Regions from separate parts of the Homo sapiens genome. Here regions 2 and 3 are each linked to region 1. The links are contacts of gene promoters, found by promoter capture Hi-C in blood cells and fetal thymus (Javierre and others, 2016). All regions are on one chromosome and are shown on one strand. Each heading gives the region's core, a stretch centred on a gene start or on the middle of the fragment in contact. The rest is flanking DNA. Distances are from core to core; before and after follow the strand shown.

The links. The method cuts DNA at HindIII sites, captures the fragments that hold promoters and counts their contacts. A CHiCAGO score of 5 or more calls a contact.
Region 2: a fragment that was not itself captured here is called in contact with the fragment with the promoter of DYNC1LI2 in region 1 in 7 of 17 cell types (activated CD4 T cells, naive CD4 T cells, naive CD8 T cells and 4 more); the score reaches 7.9 in activated CD4 T cells.
Region 3: a contact is called between a fragment that was not itself captured here and the fragment with the promoter of DYNC1LI2 in region 1, in 3 of 17 cell types (naive CD8 T cells, total CD8 T cells and fetal thymus). The highest score is 6.3, in naive CD8 T cells.

Annotation. Positions count from the first base shown.
Region 1 is chr16:66,749,785-66,753,233 of GRCh38, reverse strand. It overlaps DYNC1LI2 (dynein cytoplasmic 1 light intermediate chain 2), which reads left to right and starts at 1,625. Exons shown (of 13, transcript NM_006141.3): 1 at 1,625-1,749; 2 at 1,888-1,961. The coding sequence starts at 1,643. It overlaps DYNC1LI2-DT (DYNC1LI2 divergent transcript), which reads right to left and starts at 1,482. Exons shown (of 2, transcript NR_133569.1): 1 at 334-1,482; 2 at 1-238. RefSeq lists an enhancer at 1,269-1,984 and a silencer at 1,198-1,997. The HindIII fragment of the contact is 3,643 bases long and covers 696-3,449 here.
Region 2 is chr16:66,580,001-66,583,284 of GRCh38, reverse strand. CMTM2 (CKLF like MARVEL transmembrane domain containing 2) reads right to left here. Exons shown (of 4, transcript NM_144673.3): 2 at 3,101-3,259. Among named protein-coding and RNA genes, the nearest start is that of CMTM2, 2.2 kb to the right of the region's middle. The HindIII fragment of the contact is 685 bases long and covers 1,510-2,194 here.
Region 3 is chr16:66,528,847-66,531,346 of GRCh38, reverse strand. TK2 (thymidine kinase 2) reads left to right here. Exons shown (of 10, transcript NM_004614.5): 6 at 2,280-2,353. Among named protein-coding and RNA genes, the nearest start is that of TK2, 20 kb to the left of the region's middle. The HindIII fragment of the contact is 3,419 bases long and covers 1-2,500 here.

The DNA.
Region 1 (3,449 bases), core at 376-2,875:
TATCCAAGTCACTGATGGCACCCTGAATTGGCTGGCCAGGGCAGGAGGTTTGGGCAGGCCCCTAGCAGCCTCATCTGCTGGTCCCTCCTCTTCATCAGCCACCTCTGGGCTAGTCTTTAATAAGCCTCAGTGCTATCATCCAGCATTGATTTCACTTTCGCATCTAAGATGTGAATTGTCAAATGCCCTGTTGAAATCTGCATTTGCTGTATCTGCAGCATCCGCCTACCTGGTACTCCTGCAAAAAAGAAAGATACTGTGTAAATCTGGTATTCTCTTTTCCTTTAGTGTTTAATCACAAAATTTCACTTAGTGCTGATTAAGCTCACTGGCCTGTAATTTTCATCTCCATCTTCTGTCCTGTGAAAATTCAGCACTGCTTGCCCTTTTAGGACTTCTGGCACTTTGCCTGATTTTCCCAGATTTCCAAGGGAGGAACTCAGTGGGTTTTCACTCTCGTCTTGTTTAAACCTTACATCCAGTTTGGCAGATGATATGCCCATTTGTTTTATCCCGTAATTCATGCCGCCAGATTTTTTGGCATCAGGATCACAATCCTACTCATCTGAAACCTACTTAGGTGGTGCTTTTCTGCCACATTCCACTTCCTTGTGATATTTAGAAATGTCTTGTTAGCCTGTTTCCATAGAGAATGGCAAGAGCCCTCAAGTAGAGGCCACACCTAAAATTAAGCTTGATAATGGAATGTATGTTTTTCCTTCGGTTACTCTCCGCTCTTTCCCTTTTCCATCCCCTTTCCTTTTATTTTTCTCCCCGCTCTGCACCTGCCAGCTGGCCCCCAAGGAAATTAAGGGCTCCTCTTCTGGTGTGAAATGCTGGCTCCCTGAAAACATCATTTTAAAAAGCATGTTAATAAAGCAAAGCCAAGTGTATTATGCACTGCGGTCAAGAGCACTACTTCACAGTCTTTAGTCTTCGGAGGAGGAGGGGGAAATGCAGGATATTTATGAGGATTCTGGGGTCTTCCTTAAGGCTAGTCTTTCAATGCAGGGCTTGAGTAGGGTTAGGCCAAGTTCATGATATAATGGTCCAAGGTTGGGGAATAAATTAGAAGTACCGAATGTTATCTTCTAGCCTTGGGTCCTTGGGTGGGTTTCTTAAATTTTTTGAGCTTCAGGTTCCTCATCTGTGAAAGGGTTAGATAAGATTCAGTGAGATAATGTGTGACTCTGGCACATGGTGAGCTCTAGATAAATGGCGCTTTTGTGTCCATCAGTCTCATTCCCAAAGCCTAGGCTTTCGGGTCGGTCATCCGGCTGCCCGACCCGCGACGGCGCAGGGGAATCGGCGAGCGTGGCGGGGTGCTGCGCTGCGCCCCTCAGCCGGCAGAGGCCGCCAGCGCGCCCTCGGTCCGGACGGTGCCCGCCCCTGCCACCGCCTCCCCGCGCATGGCTGCCCCGGCGGCTGCCTGACCGCCGCCCGCCACCTCGGCGGCCTCGCAACCCGTGGGAGCCCGTGGCCATCGCAGACCTAGAGGACACGTTGGGCGGCGCAGTCGCCGCGGCAAGGTCGGCGGGCGGCGCGGCGCGAGGGACGGCGAGCGGGGGGCGGCCCGGCCCGGGTCCTCGCGGGTCCTCGGCGGGCCCGGGGGAGGGCCCTCTTTGTGGCTGCAGTTGGCAAGATGGCGCCGGTGGGGGTGGAGAAGAAGCTGCTGCTAGGTCCCAACGGGCCCGCGGTGGCGGCCGCCGGCGACCTGACCAGTGAGGAGGAGGAAGGCCAGAGCCTATGGTGAGGCCGCGGGCGGTCGGGCCGGGCCGTGGGGGGCGCGGCCTCTGGGCCGGACCGTCGGACACACTGAGGGGCCGACGCGAGCCGGGCCATCCCAGCCCGGCCCGGGGCTGACCACTCTTGCCATTGTCGCCACAGGTCCTCCATTCTGAGCGAAGTGTCCACCCGCGCCAGGTCCAAGCTGCCGTCCGGCAAGAACATCCTGGTCTTCGGTGAGCGCCGGCGGCGGGGCGTTGCCCCAGGTCGCTGGGGTGGGCGAGGCGGGCGCCCCTCCCTCAGGTCCCCGCCTTCCCCGTTCCAGCCGCCTGCCCGCAGCCTGGCGGGAAAGGGACCGTCGGCCCTGGCCGGTCAGCTGGAGAGTGGTCAAGCCTCCAGCGCCTGAGGGTGGGATGCTGCCCTCTTTGGAGAGCGTAGTGGTGCTTTGGGGTTGTCGGCATATTGTTTCAGTCACTTGGCCCTCTATGCCTTCATTGCCTCGACGGTTACCAAATTGAGGTCGTGGAGAGGGGAAGCTAGTAGATGAGATTAGGTGGAGAAGGTGGGAGAACGAGGTGACCTGGGCTCGGAGCTGTGGGGAAATGACCACGGGAGCCTTCTTTGAGCCTCATCAGTAGTGCATAGTCCGAGGTTTTAGGGACTTTGCAGAGGACAGAGAGTCAGCACTGGGGACGTTTCCTCCATTATGCTAGCCCTCACTGCTAGGTTACCTGAGTCAGGTCCCTTACTCCCTCTGGCCTCACTCTCCTCAAGTGAGGGAGTTTGGGTACATTCACACAGCAAGTCCATTTGTTGCTTGGGACCTGTGGGCTGGGCACAGGCTCAGCATAGGCGACTCTTAAACACTATAGAAGAATCTCAGTCTGGTGGAAGACAGATGTATTGGTGATTGCATTGCACCATGCCGATTATTGTGGAAGCATTACACTGCTTAGAGCTGGTGAAGGAGGATGATTCGGGGGTTGAGTATTTTGCAGAAAAGTGTCAGTATGCAGGGACACAGATGACAAGAGGGTGTGGGGTTTGGAAACTGCTAGAAGCGCCTTGTGGTTGGTGGCTGCTAAGGTAAGTTGGGGGCAGATTGTGGGAAGGCTGAAGAGTTAGTGCTGTTTCCTGAAGTTCTCTGATTTTTCAAATGGCTTTTATCTCACCTCCATCCCCCAATTCCCATGGGAATCACTGCCTTGGTAGTTTTCCTACTGTTAGAATGTGTGACCTTTCTCAGGAATTGACTGTGGTAGGTAATACCGGACCCTTAGAGATCTTCAAGAAGTGGGGGATCAAGATCACCAGATCTGAGTTTTAGAAAGAACGCTGCCTGCAGAGGGACAGTAGCTCAAAATGAGCAGGTACTGAAGTCAGGCTGACAGGTCCTCACCTTGGTCTGGATGCAGAGGGCCTGAATAAGGTAGAGGCATTGGAGATGGAGAGGAGGTCTTTGATCTGTGGACTGACTGCCTTTCAATTCTCATGTTCTGTAATTCCATATTATTAAATGGCAGAAGTGCCTAGTAATGTTTGGCGATGGTTCTCCTTGATGTTTAAGGATCCGGGGAAGGGGGGTGTTGTTTGGGTGGAGGGAGATGAAGAAGTGCTTAATAATTAACTGAGATTGTACTGAAGAGTTTTGCTAGGTCTATAATTATTTTCGTCAGTTTCTTAGCCTTCAGAATGTTTGTGAAGGAGATGTACTAAAATCAAAA
Region 2 (3,284 bases), core at 603-3,102, 170 kb after region 1:
CCTGGCCTCAAGTGGTCCACCCACCTCGGCCTCCCAAAGTGCTGGGAGTACAGCTGTGAGCCCCCGTGCCCAGCCAAAAAAATCCTATGTTTCTCATTGTTCATTGTTGGTATTCAGGAACACTACTGCTTTTGTGTCTGGTAACCTTGTGGAACTCAATCAGTTCTAGTGATTTGACTGTAGATTCTCTTAGATTTTCTGTGTAGATAATTCTATTAGATTTTTCCTCTTGTCAATCTCTATACCTTTTGTTTTTCTTGTCATATTGAACTAAGGTCTCTATCACAATGTTGAATACAAGAGAAGCTAGTAAGCATCTCTAAGGAAATGCTCCTGAAGTGTCACCTAAAATACAATTTGTGCAGGTTTGGATAGATGTCTATTTTATTTTATTTTATTTATTTATTTTTTGAGATGGAGTCTCACTCTGTCGCCCAGGCTGGAGTGCAGTGGCACGATCTCGGCTCACTGCAAGCTCTGCCTCCCGGGTTCATGCCATTCTCCTGCCTCAGCCTCCTGAGAAGCTGGGACTACAGGCACACATCACTGTGCCTGGCTTCTTGACACCTCTTTTATTATTTTTTAGACAGGGTCTCACTCTGTCACTCAGATTGGAGTGCAGTGGCACCATCAGAGCTCTCTGTAGCCTTGACCTCCTGGGTTCAAGCCATCCTCCCACCTCAGCCTCCTGAGTAGCTGGAACAACAGGCATGTGCCACCATGCTTGGCTAATTTTTAAATTTTTTTGTAGAGACAGGGTCTCCCTATGTTGTCCAGTCTGGTCTCAAACTCCTGGACCAAAGGGACCCATCCACCTCAGCCTCCCAACGTGCTGGGATTACAGGTGTGAGCCACCACACCCAGCCCAACAACCACTGATGGATGTTCTCACTCATTGTTCTGTCTCAATCTCTTATTTTCTCTCTCTCTGTGTGCTGTGTTCTGGGTAATTTCCCCATACCTTTCAGTTAACAGTTCCCTCCTTCAGCTATGTCTGATCTGTTTTTGAATTCATCTATTGACATTTTTATTTCAATAACTATATTTTCTATTCTAGACACTGTACTTTTTAAAAATCTGTCTATTTTGTCCTCATAGTGTCTTACTCTTTTCTCAGGACTCTTATGTCTATAATCCCTTAAAATATATTATTATTTTCAGACAGCTCTTCTATTATCTCATATTCTCAGGATTCTAATCCATTTGTTGTGTTTGTTGATTCTTAGTAATGGGGATTTTTTAAAATCAGGTGTTTAGTAGTTTTGAATTATTAGTTCATTTTTGACAAGGTTTTCCCCCCACCCCCACTGTGAGAATCTCTTCATGCCTTGATTGTGATTTTGCATTTGTTTCTATCAGGAGTCCAAGGATATCAGCAGAATGTCATCAGACTGGGATCAGTTTTTATGGTAATTCCCAGGGATGAAGGTTTCTGGGCTGCATGAAGGTTTCTAGGCTGCAGATAACAAAAATTCAAACTCCAATCTGTACAAAGGGCAGGCTTAAGCTTTCTATTTCTCAAGGAAGACTTCCTCTCCGCCCACTCAAAGCTCAGGCAGAGATGAACATGTTTTCTTATTCCTCTGTGTTGGGAATAAGAAGGGTATGTGTCTTTGTCCATCTTTTCCCTAAGGAGGTAGTCTTTCCAGGGCGCTGGCTTTATACAGGGTTTTCAGTTCTAAATTCCCACTTTGCTTAGGATCAAGGCCTTATTTCCTGACTTGAGAGTGCATGAAAATCCAGGCTGTAGGTTCCTGAGACAATACCTCTTGGACCATTCCCACTCATACTTTGTAGCTTATGTGATCACTGCCCTGTTTGCCATTTCTGGCGCCTGTGTGTTTTCATTTCTTTTTTGCCAGCTCATTCATTCAGTTAAAGCAATACTGGTTACATTTCCCCTGGTATTTTTAGGTAAGCACAGTGGGAAGATGTTCAGGGTTCATTGGTTTTTCATCTTGCTGGAACTAAAAATGTCTTCTCAGGCTCCTTGTTTAGGAACTTGTCCTCTGCCTGTCCTTTTACCTTGTCCTCTGCTTGTCCCTTTTCTGAGAGTCCTTATTTGGCCCTCCTGTCCTTTCTCCCTGTATCGGAGGTCCTCATCTGCTTCACCAAGACCTCTGGATCCCTGGACCCTAATAGTTTTTAACAAGAAGGCAGGATGAAATGTACTCATAAAGCTAAGTTTGAAGCTTTTTTCTGCTACTTACCAGCTGAGTGACCTGGGGGCAAGTTACTTGGCCATTCTAGGCCAATTTCCTCATGTGTAACGTGAGTGAAACAGTGAACAAGAGGGCTCTGGAGGCAGGCTGTGAATGTGCAATGAACAAAGGGACTTGGGAATTGGGGTCTTCATTGACTGGCAAGGGGTTAGGTGGTTGTGCCCTGTGGTTAAACAGGTGATGGGCAGGGATTCAATTCCATGAGTCCTCAGGCACGGTGTCAAGCAATTTACATTTAATCCTCAGGATTGAATGTCAGTTCTGCAAGGAATGTGACTGTCTCATGTTACAGATGAGGAAACAGGCTGGGAATGGTTTAGTAACTTGCCCAGTTCTGTCTCTTTCCACTAGATGACTGCTTTGGGCTGAACATCCTTCTGATCCAAACATCCTTTATAGGGATATTCACTGGAGACCTAACGCTGCTTTAGAAGTGATTTTTAAAAAAAATTCCCATTTTGTTTTATTTTATTGACTTATGGGAGAGTAATTTTCTTCTTTGAATTTTGGGAATGGGGTCCTTCTGGGGTGATCTCCTGTCAAGTGTGAGCTGGCACAGGAGTTCGGAGGAACAGCTGGTTGCTACACCTCCCCTTCCCCTAAAGAGAACAAAGGCTCAGGCCCTCTTTGACCACCAGGTAAGTAAGAGTTCCCCACTCTCACTCCAACACACAGATAGGCTTTTTGGAGCATTTTCTGCCTAGCTACCCCTCTTGCACCCAGCTGCCTCTGCCTGGGCCCCACTGATGTTCTGAGTCCCTGACCCAGGCACAGATATGGGAGGTGAGGTGTGTCTCTCTGTTTGGTGACTTTCCAGGTGCCAAGACACACCTGATCAGCATTCTGGATGCAGGCACTCCCCATCACCCCTTACTTACAGAAATGGGCCACAGGATGAAGGGTATGTATCTATGAATGGCAAAGCTGTACAGTAAGATGAAGAAGCTGAAGAAGGATATCTCCATGGTGATGATAAGCCTCAAGATGGGGTGCACGGTGAGTGAGGACAACAGTATCATTGCAGCTATTAGGCAGCCCTGCAGTGAGACATAGACACCTGAG
Region 3 (2,500 bases), core at 1-2,500, 220 kb after region 1:
AACGTTTTCTTCAGACTTGGGGTATGTGATTGCCAGGAAGGGAAACTTTACAAGGAAGCCAGGCTAGGCCTTCAGTGCTGTGCAGGCCTCTCTGTGTGGGGCCAAGGTCTCTGGCTTCTGTGGTTCTCTTCTGACCTGCCTCTAGTGCCCCCACCTGCAAACCTCAGCCAGCCAGGTGGTGCCCCTGCCACCATTCTGAGCTCACATCTTTATGACCTGACCACTGCTGGGCTTAATGCCGTTTAACTCAGTTCTTCTCAAAGTGTGGTCCCTGGACCAGCAGCGGAAGCATCACCTGGAAACTTGTTAGAAATGCACATTTTCAGCTGGGTGTGGTGGATCCCACCTGTAATCCCAGCACTTTGGGAGGCTGAGGCATGCGGATCACCTGAGGTCAGGAGTTCAAGACCAGCCTGGCCAACATGGTGAAACCCCATCTCTACTAAAAAATACAAAAATTAGTCTGGCGTGGTGGTATGTGTGTGCCTATAATCCCAGCCACTTGGGAGGCTGAGGCAGGAGAATGGCTTGAACCCAGGAGGCGGAGGTTGCAGTGAGCTGAGATCATACCACTGCACTCCAGCCTGGGTGACAGAGTGAGACTCTGTCTCAAAAAAAAAAAAAAAGAAAGAAATGCAAATTTTCTAGTCACATCCCAGACCTGCTGAATTAGAAATTCTAGGGATGAGGCCCAGCAATCTGTGTTTTATCAAGCCCTCCAGGTGACTCGAATGCATGCTTTGTTTGTTTTCATATTTGAGAACCACTTATTTAACCTTCATGGGGTCTGGCTCTTAGTTCAAATTCTTGAGACAAAGAATCTGATTGGTTCAGCTTTGGTCAGGTGTCCAGCCCTGGTTCAATCAGGTGTTGGGGACAGGACCCCAAGGCACAAACATGGCTGCTTAGGCCTATTCCATCAGTGAGGATGCATCTAGAGACAGAGTCTCTTAGAAGAAAGGGGGCTGTGGAGGTCCTGATCAGCACCTATGTTTCAAAGCTGTAAGCACAACCTATGATGCCAGCTTTAAGGCTCTGCATGAAGGAGACAGACTGTCCCTACAGCCAGTTAACACTGGCACAGCTGCTGGGCTGGACAGTTCGGTCCCAGTCTGGGTACCTGCAGCAATAGCTACCATTCTTCTGTAAGTCTGTCTTTTAAAATTGAAAGATGTGAGTGGGCCGTTTTTGGTGAATAAGAATTTCCATCTCCCCAAATATCTGTCTAAATTGCACAAATCCACAAATCGAAAGATCTGAGGTTAGTGCATTTTGCCTTTGCTAATTTGCTTTTCCTGAGCAGGCACTCAATTGCAAACCTAAGTTGTATCTAATGATATTTGAATAGGAAGGGATATAAATGCACTCCTCTATTTAAGGAAATCTACCTCAGGAGGCAGAGAGAGATGGACAGACCAGGAAAGATGAGCAGAAGGAGACCAGAGGGATGAATGGGGAGCTAGGAAGTAAGGAAAGAGAGGATGGAAGAATGGAAAGGAAGATGGATGGGCAGAGGATGGATGGACAGAGGGACAGCAGGGAGAGGGAGGAAGTGCCTGGGTTATGGCTTTGAATCTGCCTTGGATTTGTTGGCCCAGGTCCCATGGGTGCTGTGGGCCATGGCCAAGTGAGAGTAGTGTTAGTGTGCCTGGCATCAAGGGTCAGGGCGCCTCTTGCTTCCCAGAGGAACGCTGGACAAAGGGCAAGGTCGTCTGCAGAGGGTTTGAGCATCCTGGCAGAAAGGGGCACTGTCAGGCTGTCTTCCTCCCTCTTGGGCATCGTTCTTACCAGTTTCCTTGGGCAGAGCCCCCAGAACGTCACCCCCAACCCGACCCTCTTGGGGCTGTACCTCATGCATGTGGTCCCTCTGCTTAAGCAAACTCACCCTATTTAGGTCCGTGGTAGTCACCACATGTTGCCTCAAGTGGACAGCTTTGGATGGTTTCTCCAGGGCTTGACCGTGTTCTAGTTGAGACTCACCTGCCATCAAAGAGGCAGCTGCTGATGAGCCCTCAGCCTCGGCATTGCTGGGCCATGCATGCAGCTTTGGGGTGTGGGGCAGGTCAGGGTGGAAGGGGGACACAGCCTGAGCCTGGTGGCAGATGTGGCTTCTCCTCCCGGCAGGGGAGTGAGGAGGTCCTCCTGCTTCACTCTCTCTGCCGCCTTGATTCTCATATTCAGCAAAGTCCCCAGGCAGGGGGAGTAACAGACATTTCTCAAGGCCTCCTGGCTGTCTCCTTTTCCCCTGAGTTAGTGATTCTCTTTTTGTTTTCCTTTAGGTGTCATCTGTACGGTTGATGGAGAGGTCGATTCACAGCGCAAGATACATTTTTGTAGAAAACCTGTATAGAAGGTACTGTAGTTTGAATAGTTGATAATTTATTAAACCACTAATTTTTCAAAATGAAATAGAAACTTGTTTATTCGATTGACAGATATGGAGTACCCGCTGTTGTATCAGTTATCCATTGCCATAGCAATGCGGTGTAACAAACAGCCA